5 separate regions of the Homo sapiens genome follow, and regions 2, 3, 4 and 5 are each linked to region 1. The links are contacts of gene promoters, found by promoter capture Hi-C in blood cells and fetal thymus (Javierre and others, 2016). All regions are on one chromosome and are shown on one strand. The core of a region is centred on a gene start or on the middle of the fragment in contact, and the rest is flanking DNA. Distances in the headings are between cores, read along the strand shown.

Region 1 (2,700 bases), core at 40-2,539:
AAATTAATCTTTTCAAAACTGTAAATTAAAGCAGATTATTCTCTAGCTTAATATCCTTTACTTATTTCCCAATGCACTTTGAGTAAAATTCAAATGTTTCATTGTGCACTGCAAGGACACCTATGTTTTGGAAGTTTCCTATCTCTCTGGTATCTTCTTTTGCATCTCTCTGAAATGCTGCAGCTCCCGCCACCCGACCTCCCCGCCTTTAGAGTTGAGGCATAAGACATTTCCTTTGTCGAGAAGGGTCTTTGTTTAACTGGCATTTTAAGGTTTAATCTTAAAGATTACGCCCTTAGCCAGGTGCGGTAGCTCATGCCTATAATCCCATCAGTTTGTGAGGTCCAGGAGGGCGGATCATTGAGCTCACTTGAGCTCAGCAGTTCAAGATCAGCATAGGCAACATGGCGAAACCCCATCTCTACAAAAAATACAAAAATTAACCTGGCCTGAGCACTTGTAGTTCCTAGCTACTTAAGAGACTGAGGTGTGAGGATCGCCTGGGGCAGGGGGCGGGCAGAGGGAGGTTGCAGTGAGTGGAGATTGCGTCAGCAAGACACTTTCTCAAAAAAAATCACGCCCCCCATGAAAGGCTTTCCTTTACCACCCAACTCCACCTTGGTTACTCTATCACAGCTCCCTATGTGTTCCCTTTCCAGCATAAATCACAACTATTTGTCAGTGAATTCCATGACAGAACGAACCTAGCTTTTGTTTGGCACATAATTGTTAAATGAATGCAGTATTATATTTGGCTAGACCAAAATTGTTTCCCTATCAGTTTGTGAGCAACTTGAGGGCAGAGCCCTAAATCATTCGAGTGTGCTGACCTCTAGGGGGGTTAGTCCAGTGCATGGTCTAGAATTGCTCAAATCGGCCTTTTGAAAAAATGAATCATGTACAATGATAAAGGTGTGGACAGGACCACAAGTAACGGTGTAACGATTAGCAGATTTAAGGAAAAGTCAGTCTAAAAGGAAACGTGAGAAGCTAATTGCAGAAGACAGCCATTTCAAGTCTTCAACAGCAAGGCTGTACCTCCTCACGTGACTTCAGTGTAGACTTTAAGAACCTAAACTAACGCTTCTCGCGAGAGGAAAGATTGACCGCTCGCAAGCGTACATCAGCTGGTGCCCCGCCTTCCCTGGGCCCCACCCACTGCCTGTCCTCATTCCCACCTTGAACCAGCCTTTTGCGCGTGTGACGTCATGGCGCCGTGCGTGGCCTCGGCGGTGGCGCAGGGGGCGGGCCCGCGGCGCGGCGCCGGAGGAGGAAGTGGTGAGGTTGTTGCTCCTTCAGCGCCTATCGCTGGCTCTTGGGGCGCAGAGAGGGGCCGCAGTCTCCGCGGCTGCGTCGAGCTCCCTTGCAGTCCCCTCCATGTTCCCCGGCGCCACTACTCCCCTTCCTAAGGCCGCCGCTTACCCCGGGGTCTATGGAAGTAATGGAAGGACCCCTCAACCTGGTGAGTGTCCCACAGAATATAGCGTTCGTCTTGGGTGCCTTTGCCTCAGGAGCCCGGCCCCGTCCCCGGCGCGTCGGCTAACCCTTTAGGCTGGGAGGTTGGTTTGGCAGGAGTGGTCGCAGAGGCTGTGAGGGGCTGCTAGGCAGGCCCTGGCCCAACTGCGGCTCCAGGCTAGCCACTTCAGACTTTGCCCTCCTGGGGGATCCCCGGGAAGTCCTGGCGCCCCCTGTCGCGGGGCCCCGGGCGAGGGGATGCCACCACCTGGGGCTGCCACCTCCTCTCTGGCTGGGGGAAGTCCTCTTAGCGCCACGTAGCCACCTCCCTACAGCCTGGAGAGGCACTGAAGCCGGCCAAGGCAGAAATGGTGTGATACTGGTTTTAAGTTCTAGCAGCAGGGTCTGAGTCTGAGTCGCCCCGCTTTGGAGAGGTGGAGGAGTGAATAGCCTCCTCACCCTCCACTTCCCCCTCCTCACCCTTCACTTCCCCCTCCTCACCCTCCACTTCCCCCTCCTCACCCTCCACTTCCCCCTCATTTCTCACATACATTCACATGCATAAACTGAGTCTACCGTCTTCCAAATATATTAGAGACAGCTGGGAAAAAGACAGCCGTTCCTGTATTTAGCTCAGATTCATCAATTTAGGCATCATGAAAGTGTAATAGGTGTTTGCTGTTCTCAGGAAAATGGCTGATAGCCTGTTTACTTGTGTTTTAAGGCGTTTCAGGTGTTGCAATTAAAAAACAACACAACAGAACCCCACTAACAACGGGAAGCATGAGTTCTTTTCAGACTGGCCATTGCATCTTTTAGTTTTCCAGAGAGGTTACCCATTTTGGATGTAAAAGTCAGATTACTTAAGGTTGCACACAGGAAGAACTTTTGAGTCACAGGTTTGCAATTCATTTGCGATGGTGGAATTGAAAGAAAGCTCTATAGAGGATTCTTTTCTCACATTAGAACTCTGAGTCCTAGAAGAGCAGTAGAGTCAGGTGGTTTAAGACTCTAGGTTTTGAAGCTATGCTGCTTGGATTTGAATTCTAACCTCGTCACTTGATATCTGTGTTACCTTGGGCAAACTACTTGGCTTCACTCGGCTTCAGGTTTTTTGGGAGGATTAAAGGAGTAAATAGGTGTAAAGCACTTAGAACTGTACTAAGTACATAGTACAGTGTAAGAGTTAGCGATTATAACCAGACCATAAGCCCTTAATTTAAAATCTATTTGTAGAATAAAGGT
Region 2 (2,700 bases), core at 71-2,570, 550 kb before region 1:
CCAACTAGAGCATTCCATCCCCTGGCCACAGTGACTAATTCAGGGCTGGAAGTGTGATGCAAACAGGCAATGAAGCCCCATTCCAGGATCTTCAGAAAACTCTTGGGATCTCTTTCTCCTGTGGTTGCTCAGCTGGGAAGATGTCTCACCATTCATCTTGCCATCTCATGGGGATGGTCTGCCTGAAAATGAAACCAATCAGAGACTACAGAGCCAAGACTACAGAGCCAAGTGATTAGAGAGAACCCATAGTGAAGACCATGGATGAGCTCCTGGCCCAGATGCTGGGCCTTTTTTGCTTAAGTTAAGTTGAACTGGCTTCTGTCACTTGCCACTAGAGGAAACCTCACTGATAAAGAGTTAACTGTGTCATTTATTGAGCACTGCTTGTGTGCCAGGCACCAGAATAAGTATGTTAACAGACATAGTCTCATTTAATCCACACAACAGACCTGTATTTGCTGCAATTGTGCAGATGAGGAGACGGGGATTTGAAGAGGTTAAGTAATTCTGAGGCTATCCAGCTTGTACGGAACACTAGAGCCTCTGCACTGGTAATATTGATAAGGTTGAATTTAGCAACATGGGCTTGGGACATTAACTCAGAAATATTCAGGCTAGAGGGATGCCATTGGCTAGTCACTAGGGCCCTGAAAGCATCAATTTAGGCATCCTGGAGCATCCATCGTCTTTGTGGAGCTGGTTTTGGCAGAGCCGGCCATAGATGAAATCAAAGCCAGGCAGGATTTTGCTTATGTAGCCATGGGGCCAGTTAGATCCTGGAATTCTCCATGGGGAACAAGAGTGAGGACAGTCAGTTCCAAGACTTCTGTGAAAAGACAGTATGTATATCAGGCTACAAATAGTTCCTTCACTCCTGAGAGAATTAAGGGACCTCCTTAGGGTCTTGAGCTAAGCCCAAATTGAGTTAAATAACTGGCGAGAAGATGAGGCAGAGGTTCACCCTAGAGTCCATCCCAGCCAGCATTTGTGGCTTGCAATTGATTTGTCATGGTCTGGCCCAGGGCGAGGTGAGGTCATTGTTGTGAAGGTAAAAAATGATCCAAATGCATTCACCATGCCAGGCCTGGGCCTACTCGCCCTCATATCTATTCCTTGCCCTTCCTCTGCTCTGCCTTGCTGTGGGGCTGACCCCTGCAGGCTGCCTTCCCCAGGTTCCTGTGTGAGATGGCTTCTGCCTGGTGCAGTCAACAACAGGCACTGGTGAGGCATTGGCAGTGGGGAGTGAGGGTAAGTTTGGGTGTTTCTCCCTCTCATTCTCTGCCTCAAACTCATTCTCCAGCAACAGCTGGGTCTCCTCCATAGCTCCAGATTCCACAGATCAGACCCACCTTGGTTCCACCTCTGCCTCCTCACCCCAGCCTCAGTGCCTCTGGAAATGCTGCTTTCAACCTAGGAGCTATGGAGGGCCTCCTGCTGGTGCTCATCTCCGGGTCATTGGATTGTCCTTCCTTGGCATCTCAGCTCTTCTATCACCTCTGTAACTAATTTCTGTTGGAAATGCTTGTAGCATTTCTTGTTTTCTTGGTTTGCCAAAGGCTCAAAATGCAACCCCTTCTTGAGAGCAGCAACCCTACCTTTGAGCACGCTCCTGTAGTAGGTGCTTAAAAATAAGTAGGTTGCTTAGTTGGTTGATGGAACTTCTTGCCAGCCTAACCCATCCATTCGTATGTTCTGCTTTCACAGAACTGCTCAGTGGAATCAGAGATCCTGTTTTCAGCCTTCTTTTAGTGGGCTGGTCCTTTTGACTTCCTACTTACTCCTTTGCAGGCTGGTAGGAGCTGAGCAATAGGAGTCTTTCCTGAAAATCTTTCCATCTTCTCAGTAATCATATTAAGTATCTGATTTTGTGTAGGCTGGCCAGAGAAAACATACTTCCCTTTCCACTGAAGGCAAGGCATCTCATCATGACTCCTTGCTGCAATTGCTTTTTTTTTTTAATTTAAGAGACAAGTCTGATTTACACTGAAAATGGTGGTTGTGGTTTATGGACTTAGCATACTAATTCCCATTTAATGCAGCAAACTTCAGGGGTAGGTTTTCATCTGAATGGAGATGAGTCACCGTATTCTTCAACCATATATTGAAAAATACCCACCGTTAGTTAAAAAACATTTCTTTTAAGCCATTTCTTCAGAGTAAAGTCAACTTGAATTCCTTGTTTGTGTGCCTGAGAGGGTCAGGAAATTCATCTTTAGCCTCAGCCTTACACATCTGCCCACCCTAGCCTCCAGAACTCCACATTTCCTATCCAAATCTTTCTTGTTGGTTTATTTGAACATCCCTCAGGAAGGAACCCAGAAGGTTCCACTTGGGCATGTGGGGTCATCGGCGCAGCTGACTCGAGTTGGCTGAGCCAACAGTGCTACTTTGGTGGAGTGTTTTGTTGGCTGGATCATCTGCAACGGGGGTTGGCCAGCGCGGGAGAACTTGGGAGTGTCCACAGGAAGTGGATATTTCCTGACCAGCTCATCCCCTGCTGACTCTCCAGCATTTTCTTGTCTACAACTAAAACGTTTTGCCTTGTATGTTCCTGCCCAAGGCCTCTTGAGACAGTGGGTGGTTTTTTTTTCTTTTATTTTTCAACTTGTGCCAAATGTGTCAGGAGTTAAGTCCATAATGCATATATCTTGGCCCCACTCTTTTAGGAATGTGGCCTCTCTGTTTCTGACACATGCT
Region 3 (2,700 bases), core at 74-2,573, 520 kb before region 1:
ATTTGCAAAGAATTGTTCTGAGCAAGACTGACAAGATCCCTGTCTTTGTGGGGCTTGTGCAAAGAGGAGGATTTGAAGGGCTAAGTGGAGAGGAAGAAGGGAAAGGATATTTCAGGTGTGGAGTGTGTATCTAGAATCATTTCCTTAAAGGAATCTGGCTCAACCTCAGGCACCTACAAAGCCACCTCCTTTCTGCCTCCAGTATTTCCTTCCTTCGCCTTCCTTCCTTCCTTCCTTCCTTCCTTCCTTCCTTCCTTCCTTCCTTCCTTCACTTTGTCACCCAAGCTAGAGGCCAGTGGGGTGATCTCGGCTCACTGCAACCTCCGCCTCCTGGGTTCAAGTGATTCTCCTGCCTCAGCCTCCCTAGTAGCTGGGATTACAGGCCTGCACCACCATGCCCGGCTAATTTTTGTATTTTTAGTAGAGGCATGATTTTGCCATGTTGGCCAGGGTGATCTCGAACTCCTGACCTCAAGTGATCTGCCCACTGCGGCCTCCCAAAGTGCTGGGATTACAGGCATGAGCCACCACGCCCGGCTAGCCTCCAGTATTTTCTTGTACTACTTCTCATATGCAGTTCCACCACTCCTTGCTTTGCTCGTTCTGATTTCCTGGCTCCCCCATAATATCCTCTTCCCCCTTGGCCACTCAGCCCTGCTCTGCCATGCCCATCTAGGCCATACTGTTCTAAAGACCGCATCTGTGAGAGGCCCTGAGGTAGCATGCTTTGTAAAACCCTTGTAGGAATTACCCCCAGCTGAGCTGCTCTCTATCCACCCATCTCCTTACAGGAGAAGAGCAATTAGATGTCGAAAATGCCAGAAGGATTGATTGACAATGACAGAACCCACATGTTGGAGTGAGAATTATCTAGATTTGTCTGCTGATTCACACACACACACACACACACACACACACACATCATTTGGCAATGTGTATGTATTAGATAAACCTTGATTTCCTCCATGAGAATGGAAGCTCCAAAAGCTGTGATTGTTATCTGTTTTGTTCACCAGAAGAGGATCCTGGCACAAAGTAGGCCCCAAGTATGTGCTGAGTGAATTAATCTTTGCAGGGCATGAGGAAGCCCCTCTTAGCAAGAGAGCTGCTGGGACTGAGATGCACTTTGATAAGCCTGCCACTGGGGTGGAAGGGAGCCTCCTGGGCTGGGTGCCAGCAGGTGCCCCAGTTCCAGAAGGTAGTAGGAAACCACTCTTCAGATAAGAGAAGGAGGATTTGGGTGTCACAGGAAGAAAACATCCAGGAGAGAGGAAGAAAGGAGAAGGTGAGAATTGGGCTGAGGTCTGTTTGGGGAAGAATCACAGGAAAAGAAGGCCTCACTGAAGGCCCTCAGAAAAGGGCTTGGGAGGAGAAGAAGTGTGTTCAACACACTTTACCCGGTTTCAAGTATTGTATGATAAGAACTTCCTCACCCAGCTTCCCTGCAGGACTATCAATAACCAGCCCCCCCACCCCCACCCCCGCCCCGCCCTGCAACACACATAGTATTTCTTAATACTTTAGTGCAGACAGAGTTTGAATTGGTGGAGAGCAGAGAAGAGCTTAGAGAGGAGGGCAGTGACAGCTGACAGCTTGTGGGTTCTGATACAAACTCATAGGTGCTCCTCTGTGGCCTGCCAGTGACCACCAGGCAGTGTTATGAACAGACGTTGCCACGGCCCAGCGTGGCTGTCCTTGCAGACTCTTTCCTGTATCCCACAGTGCTATTCCCGGTGCTGTTGGACTCGCACGGATGTTGTCCTTGTTTTAGGATCCTCCTTCCTATTTGAAGTCATTAGACTCAGTCTCTGCTAATGTGTTTGCTCTTAGGTGCCATGTGCTTATCAGTAGGATTTGAGGCTTAAATGATTTTTCAAATATGTTCCAAAACACACTGGCTGCTAGTCTATTATTTAACCCAGAAATGACTTCTCTGTCTAAGATGAACGCCCCATGGCTTCTTGCTAACTGTACTGCCTGCACCCTGCAATGATTGGAAAGCTAGAGCTTCTCCTTTTGGCAGATGGAGTCACTTCCTGATTGGGGTCCATTTGGAACTGAGATCCTCATCTTATAGCACCATAACTCTTCCTGCTTGAAGCCCTGAAATGTCTGTTTTTGCAGCAAAGTCGCACGAGAGTTTTCTTAACCATTCTAGTCCCAGTAACAAGGACGGCCTTCGGAACCTGCTTCAAACAATACCCGAAGATCCACCAGTGTGCCCTGGGGGCATTTCTGTGTGCCCTGGGACAGAACACCACGTGGTAAATGAATGGACTAGTTCAAGTTATAAACTTAAGTTTGATTCAAAGAGAAGCAAATCTTAAATTAATAGGCAATCTGAACTAGAAGTTCAATTATTCTCATCCCCCCCAATACACACATACATGAGCAGCACTGCTTTCATTCGTTCCTGTGAGCCTGGGGCATCATTGTCTGAGATGCTGTTGTGTACGTTTCCCAGACTGTGAGTCTCCGGATCTAGACTCCAAGCTGGCGGTGCCTGGGGGCCACATGGAGCCTTTTCAGAACCCATGCTCCAGACTCTTCTGCATGATATAATCCTGCAGTAAGGAGAGCAAAACCCCAGGGAAGCCACTCAGCTTTCCCAGTGTGGCTAAGTAAAATTCCATGCTGAAAAAATGGGGTGTCACCCACAGACAGACAACAGATGAGACCTCTGAGTGTATCCTTCCTGTG
Region 4 (2,700 bases), core at 175-2,674, 530 kb before region 1:
TCTTTATGATCTTGGGTTAGGAAAAGAGTTTTAAGATATAACACCAAAACCATGATCTATAAAAGAAAAAACTGGTGAACTGGACTTCATCAAAATTAAAAATTCTTGTGCTTCCAAAGACATCACTAAGAACATGGAAAAGACAATCCACAGACTAGGAGAAAACTTTGGCAAATAACATGCTGATAAGGTACTTGTGGCAGAATTTACAAAGAACTTTTACAATAAATAAGACAAAGACAACTCGATTAAAAAATAGACAAAAGTTTTAAATAGATCTTTCACCAAAAATATGCATATGGCAAACGAGCAAATGAAAAGAGACTGAACACATTTACTCATTAGGGAAATGAAAATTAAAACCACAGTGTGGTGGGATACCACCACATACCTAATAAAACAGGTTTTAGCAGTCCCTGAAAATACCAAGTGCTGTTGAGGATGCAGAACAACTGAACTCTCACAGCTTTTGCTGGTATGGCCAATCTGAAAAACAGTTCAGCAGTTTCAAAAATAAAGTTAAACATATGCTTATGGTTTGACCCAAATATCCCACTTCTAGGCAGGTACTGAAAACTTATGTTTGAACAAAAGCTCTATATAAAGGTTTATAGAGGCTTTGTTCATAATCACCAAAAGCTGGAAATAAGCCAAAGCTCATCAACTGACAAGTGAATAAATAAACTCTGGTGCATCCACACAATGAAACACTACCCAGTAATAAAAAGGAATTGACACTGTGACATGCTACAACATGGAGGAAACTCAAAGACACTGTGCTAAGTAAAGAAAAAGCAGATGCAATAGGCTATATATTATATAATTCCATTTATATAAAATGTTTAGAAAACGCAAATTTATGCACACAGAAAGTAGATTAGTGGTTGCCTGGGGCTGGGAGAAAGAGGGGAGGGTGACTGCAGATAGAAGCAAAGGATTTGTTTTGGGTGATGGAAATGTTCTAAAACTGGATGGTGGAGATGGGCGAACAACTCTGCAAATTTATTAAAAACCATTGAATTGCTCACTTGTAATAAGTGAATTTGATGGTATGTAAGTCATACTTCAACAAAGCTGTTTTTTAAAAAGTTTAACACTAAATTTAATGTGAAAGTTATTGACCTTGACATCCTGCCAGGTTAATGGTTGTTTTGTGGGGTTTTTTTTCTATTATGAGCAATAGGATATCTGTTGATAAGATTATTGGTATGGTCATATTACATTATTAATACAAACTTTGGAAATGAAAAACATATGCCTTCTAAGAATATTTTATGGAAATTACCAAATAACTGCCATATAAAATTAATGAGGATGGGTGCCAAAGGCATAAGCTTGCAAAAATCACATGAATAGCACATTTGAAGTTCTTCCAGCTGATGTGGAAATTGATGTTATAAAAACATTGAAACATTTTTATATTTACACATTGCTACTACAGACACTGAAATCATTTGTGACTTTTATCCAACTGCTTTGCAGACAAATTTGAATATTTTTGAATATAAGATTTCCAAGCTTAATGTGTATCCTTAAAGACTATCGATAATATTTCAACCTCTATAAGGCTAACTTTGTCAATTAAAAATGATAAATGGTTCTTAAGAAAATTTTCAGAAATCCTGAGATAATTTTCATTATTGTTGTATTGGTTAGGGTAAGTTAAGAGTTGTAACAAACAACTCCCAAATCTCAATGGCTAAGGACGGTAAGAGTTTATTTATTGCCTCATGTCATAGTTCAAGGAATGGAATTGCTGGGTCATATGGCAACTCTATTTTAACATTTTGAGGAGCTGCCAAACTGTTTTCAAAAGTGGTTGCATCATTTTCTAATCTTGCCAGCAATGTATGAGGATGCCAGAATCTCCACACTCTTACCAACACTTGTTATTATCTTTTTGACTTTAGCCACCCAAGTGGATATGAAGTAGTATTTCATTGTGGTTTTGAAATACATTTCTCTTAAGGCTAATGATGTTCAGCATCTTTCATATGCTGATTACCTACTTTTTATCTTCTTTGGAAATAATTTCTATTCAAGTCTGTTGTTCATTTTTGAATTCAGTTATTTTTCTTTTTACTGTTGTCTCAGTCTATTAGTGCTACTATAACAAAATACATAAGACTGGGTAATTTATAAAGAACAGAAATTTACTTCTCACAGTTCTGGAGGCTGGGAAGTCCAAGATCAAGGTGCCAGCAGGTTTGGTGCCTGGTGAGGGCCCATTCCTCATAGATGGCACCATCTAGGTAGAAAGATGCCATTAACACAGTAAAAAGGATGGAAAGACAAAAGGGGACAAACACTGTGTTCTCACATGGCAGAAGAGCAGAAGAAACAAATTTGCCTTCTCAAGCCCTTCTGTAAGGCACTAATCCATTCATATGGGCAGAACCCTCTTGACCTGATCACTTTGTAAAAGCCCTGTCTCTTCATATCACTACAACAGGAATAAGTGTCAACAAGAATTTAGGAAGGGACACACTCAAACCATAGCAATTGTTGAGTTATGAGACTTCACATCTCTGGATAAAAGTATCTTATCAAGTCTCTTAATTTGTAAACATTTTCTTTCACTCTCTGGTTGTTTTAATTTTGATGAAATGCAATATTTATCTTTTTCTTTTGTCATTATTACTTTTAGAAACCATTACCTAATGCAAGGTCACAAAGATTTGCTTTTATGTTTTCTTATAA
Region 5 (2,700 bases), core at 166-2,665, 530 kb after region 1:
ATTATGCACATATATTTATTGTATACTTTTTAAAAGGTAATAAAGGCCAATTTCCTCTACTTGGTGACCTTTATCCTTCAGCACTCATCTCAAGCACTGTCTCCTTTCCAAAGCCTTTGTCATACTCCATAAAGCAGAGTTTGATACTTTCACCTCTAGATGCCCATACAAATGTTTCATTACTCTCTACCACACAAAATTATGTTGCATTATAATTGTCTGTGTACATCTATTTCCTCCACTGGACTGTGAACTCCTTGAGAACAAGGCATATGAATTGTTCATCATTATATTAACAAAAACCTAAACCCAGCACTGGCAAAAAATAGAAGCTCAATAAATGCTAGTTTCTGGGATGAACAGACTGGTTACTGGCAAGAGTGAAAATTAGAATCATAATGTTTTAGAGCTGGGAGAGATTATTGACAATCTAATTCATTCCCTGCATAGCTTTTCATCTAGGTTTCAGCTAGTTAGTACTTCATCTGGGTTTAAAATACAAATCTTAGGAATTCTGGCAAGATGGTAGTAGTAGTGAAATAGTTCTTTAGTTCTTAAATGCCCCATAACCACACCCCTCTCCCATAAAAATAAAACTAGGATAGCTAAGCCAAAGCCTATTGACAAACTCAAAACAAGCGAAGTGAAAAAGTACTGCCATCAACCCCGAAGTATAAGCAGATAGGGACAAAATACCAGTAATAAGACCTGTATAGTATCAGCATTTACATGGGAAGCACTGGGCATCTGACAGATCCAAGCAAAGTAGAATCTCAAAATGACCATTAGATAGAGAGATACTCACTGGAAAGCATAGTTGGCCAACTTGAGAAAAGCAGCTTAACCTGAGAGGAGTTTGTACAAACTCCAATTTGTGGGTAAGTAGAAGGACAATACAGTGATAAGTTCTGAAAGGGATGGAGTAGTCTTGGCCTTGTGAACTCTTGAAATTGACCAGCAGGGCCCGGCGTGGTGGTTCAGGCCTGTAATCCTAGGACTTTGGGAGGCCGAGGTGGGCGGATCATTTGGGGTCAGGAGTTCAAGACCAGCCTGGACAACATGGTGAAACCTTGCCTCTACTAAAAATACAAAAACTAGCCGGGTATGGTGGTGGGCACCTGTAATCCCAGCTACTTGGGAGGCTGAAGCAAGAGAATCACTTGAACCCAGGAGATGGAGGTTGCAGTGAGCCGAGATCATGCCACTGTACTCCAGCCTGGGCGACAAAGTGAGACTCTGTCTCAAAAAATAAACAAACAAACGAACAACAACAACAAAAAAAAAAAAAAAAAAGAAAGAAAGAAATTAACCAGCAGAAGCTTCCTTTCAAGACAAAGTTCCATATTGAGGAAGAACTGCTGGGAGTAGACCAAACTGAGCAGGACAGACAGCCCAGGGAGGGGCAAAGGAAAAAGATTCAGATAGAAGTGAGGGAGAAGAACAGAGCCAGGAGATAAGAAGTCAAAATTGTGAGCAAAGAAGAGAGAGCAGAGATCACATAGTAAGTATTTTAAGCTTTGAGACCTACATGGTCTTTGTCACAATGACTCAACTCTCCCATTTTATCATAAAAGTGGCCACAGATAATATGTAAACAAATAATCACGACTATATTTCTTTTTTTTTTTTTTCTTTGAGACGGAGTCTTGCTCTGTCTCCTAGGCTGAAGTGTAGTGGCGTGATCTTGGCTTACTGCAACCTCTGTCTCCTGAGTCCAAACAATTCTCCTGCCTCAGCCTCCTGAGTAGCTGGGATTACAGGCGTGTGCCACCACGCCTGGCTAGTTTTTGTATTTTTGTAGAGACGGGGTTTCACCACGTTGGCCAGGCTGGTCTTGAACTCCTGACCTCAGGTCATCCACCCGCATCAGCCTCCCAAAGTGCTGGAATTACAGGCGTGACCCACCACGCCCGGCCCTCAGGATTGTATTTCAATAAGACTTAGAAAAGCAGATGATGAGCTGAATTTAGTCCATGAGCCATGGTTTGCTAACACTGCTCTAGAGTCATGAGGTAGAAAAGCTATTCTGACCCACCCTTCCTTCCTAAAAGTTCAGTCTGCCTTCACCTAAAAATCAGCAACAGAAAAACATAGATTTGAATTCTGTACAAACTTTTTATCATAAAAAGATAATGAGGAACAAAGTAATTTTCTTACAGATGAGAGCACACCAAATAAACATGCCCACAAAGCAGGTAAAAGAGGTGAGTGAATATTTCAAAATGACTTTTTAAATTCAGGAAAAAATTAAAATATGTGAAATAATTACACAGATTAGAATTAGAATAACTTAAGAGTGAGCTGACCAAACTCAGGAAGGATTAAAACATCAAGAAGAGGCCGGGCGTGGTGACTCACACCTGTAATGCCAGCACTTTGGGAGGCTGATGCAGGCGGATCATGAGGTCAGGATTTCGAGACCAGCCTGGCCAATATGGTGAAACCCCATCTCTACTAATAAATAAATAAAAAATAAAAAAAAATTACAAATAATAGCTGGGCATGCCGGGCACAGTGGCTCATGCCTGTAATCCCAGCACTTTGGGAGGCTGAGACGGGCAGATCACCTGAGGTTGGGAGTTCGAGACCAGCCTGACCAACATGGACAAACCCTGTCTCTACTAAAAATACAAAATTAGCTGGACATGGTGGCGCATGCCTGCAATCCCAGCTACTTGGGAGGCTGAGGCAGGAGAGTCA

The links. Contacts are between HindIII fragments. The CHiCAGO score rates a contact against its expected background, and 5 or more counts as called.
Region 2: a fragment that was not itself captured here is called in contact with the fragment with the promoter of NRBF2 in region 1 in 2 of 17 cell types (M1 macrophages and activated CD4 T cells); the score reaches 5.4 in M1 macrophages.
Region 3: a fragment that was not itself captured here is called in contact with the fragment with the promoter of NRBF2 in region 1 in 1 of 17 cell types (neutrophils); the score reaches 6.5 in neutrophils.
Region 4: a contact is called between a fragment that was not itself captured here and the fragment with the promoter of NRBF2 in region 1, in 3 of 17 cell types (total CD8 T cells, naive CD8 T cells and naive CD4 T cells). The highest score is 7.2, in total CD8 T cells.
Region 5: a fragment that was not itself captured here is called in contact with the fragment with the promoter of NRBF2 in region 1 in 1 of 17 cell types (naive CD8 T cells); the score reaches 6.1 in naive CD8 T cells.

Annotation. Positions count from the first base shown.
Region 1 is chr10:63,132,039-63,134,738 of GRCh38, forward strand. NRBF2 (nuclear receptor binding factor 2) reads left to right here and starts at 1,290. Exons shown (of 4, transcript NM_030759.5): 1 at 1,290-1,462. The coding sequence starts at 1,433. RefSeq lists silencers at 1,107-1,356, 1,567-1,836. The HindIII fragment of the contact is 9,214 bases long and covers 1-2,700 here.
Region 2 is chr10:62,580,505-62,583,204 of GRCh38, forward strand. No RefSeq gene overlaps it. Among named protein-coding and RNA genes, the nearest start is that of ZNF365, 210 kb to the left of the region's middle. The HindIII fragment of the contact is 3,790 bases long and covers 1-2,700 here.
Region 3 is chr10:62,616,260-62,618,959 of GRCh38, forward strand. No RefSeq gene overlaps it. Among named protein-coding and RNA genes, the nearest start is that of ADO, 190 kb to the right of the region's middle. The HindIII fragment of the contact is 2,782 bases long and covers 1-2,700 here.
Region 4 is chr10:62,598,983-62,601,682 of GRCh38, forward strand. No RefSeq gene overlaps it. Among named protein-coding and RNA genes, the nearest start is that of ADO, 200 kb to the right of the region's middle. The HindIII fragment of the contact is 184 bases long and covers 1,333-1,516 here.
Region 5 is chr10:63,659,200-63,661,899 of GRCh38, forward strand. The region is part of intron 2 of LOC107984238 (a long non-coding RNA gene); the gene reads right to left. Among named protein-coding and RNA genes, the nearest start is that of REEP3, 140 kb to the left of the region's middle. The HindIII fragment of the contact is 196 bases long and covers 1,318-1,513 here.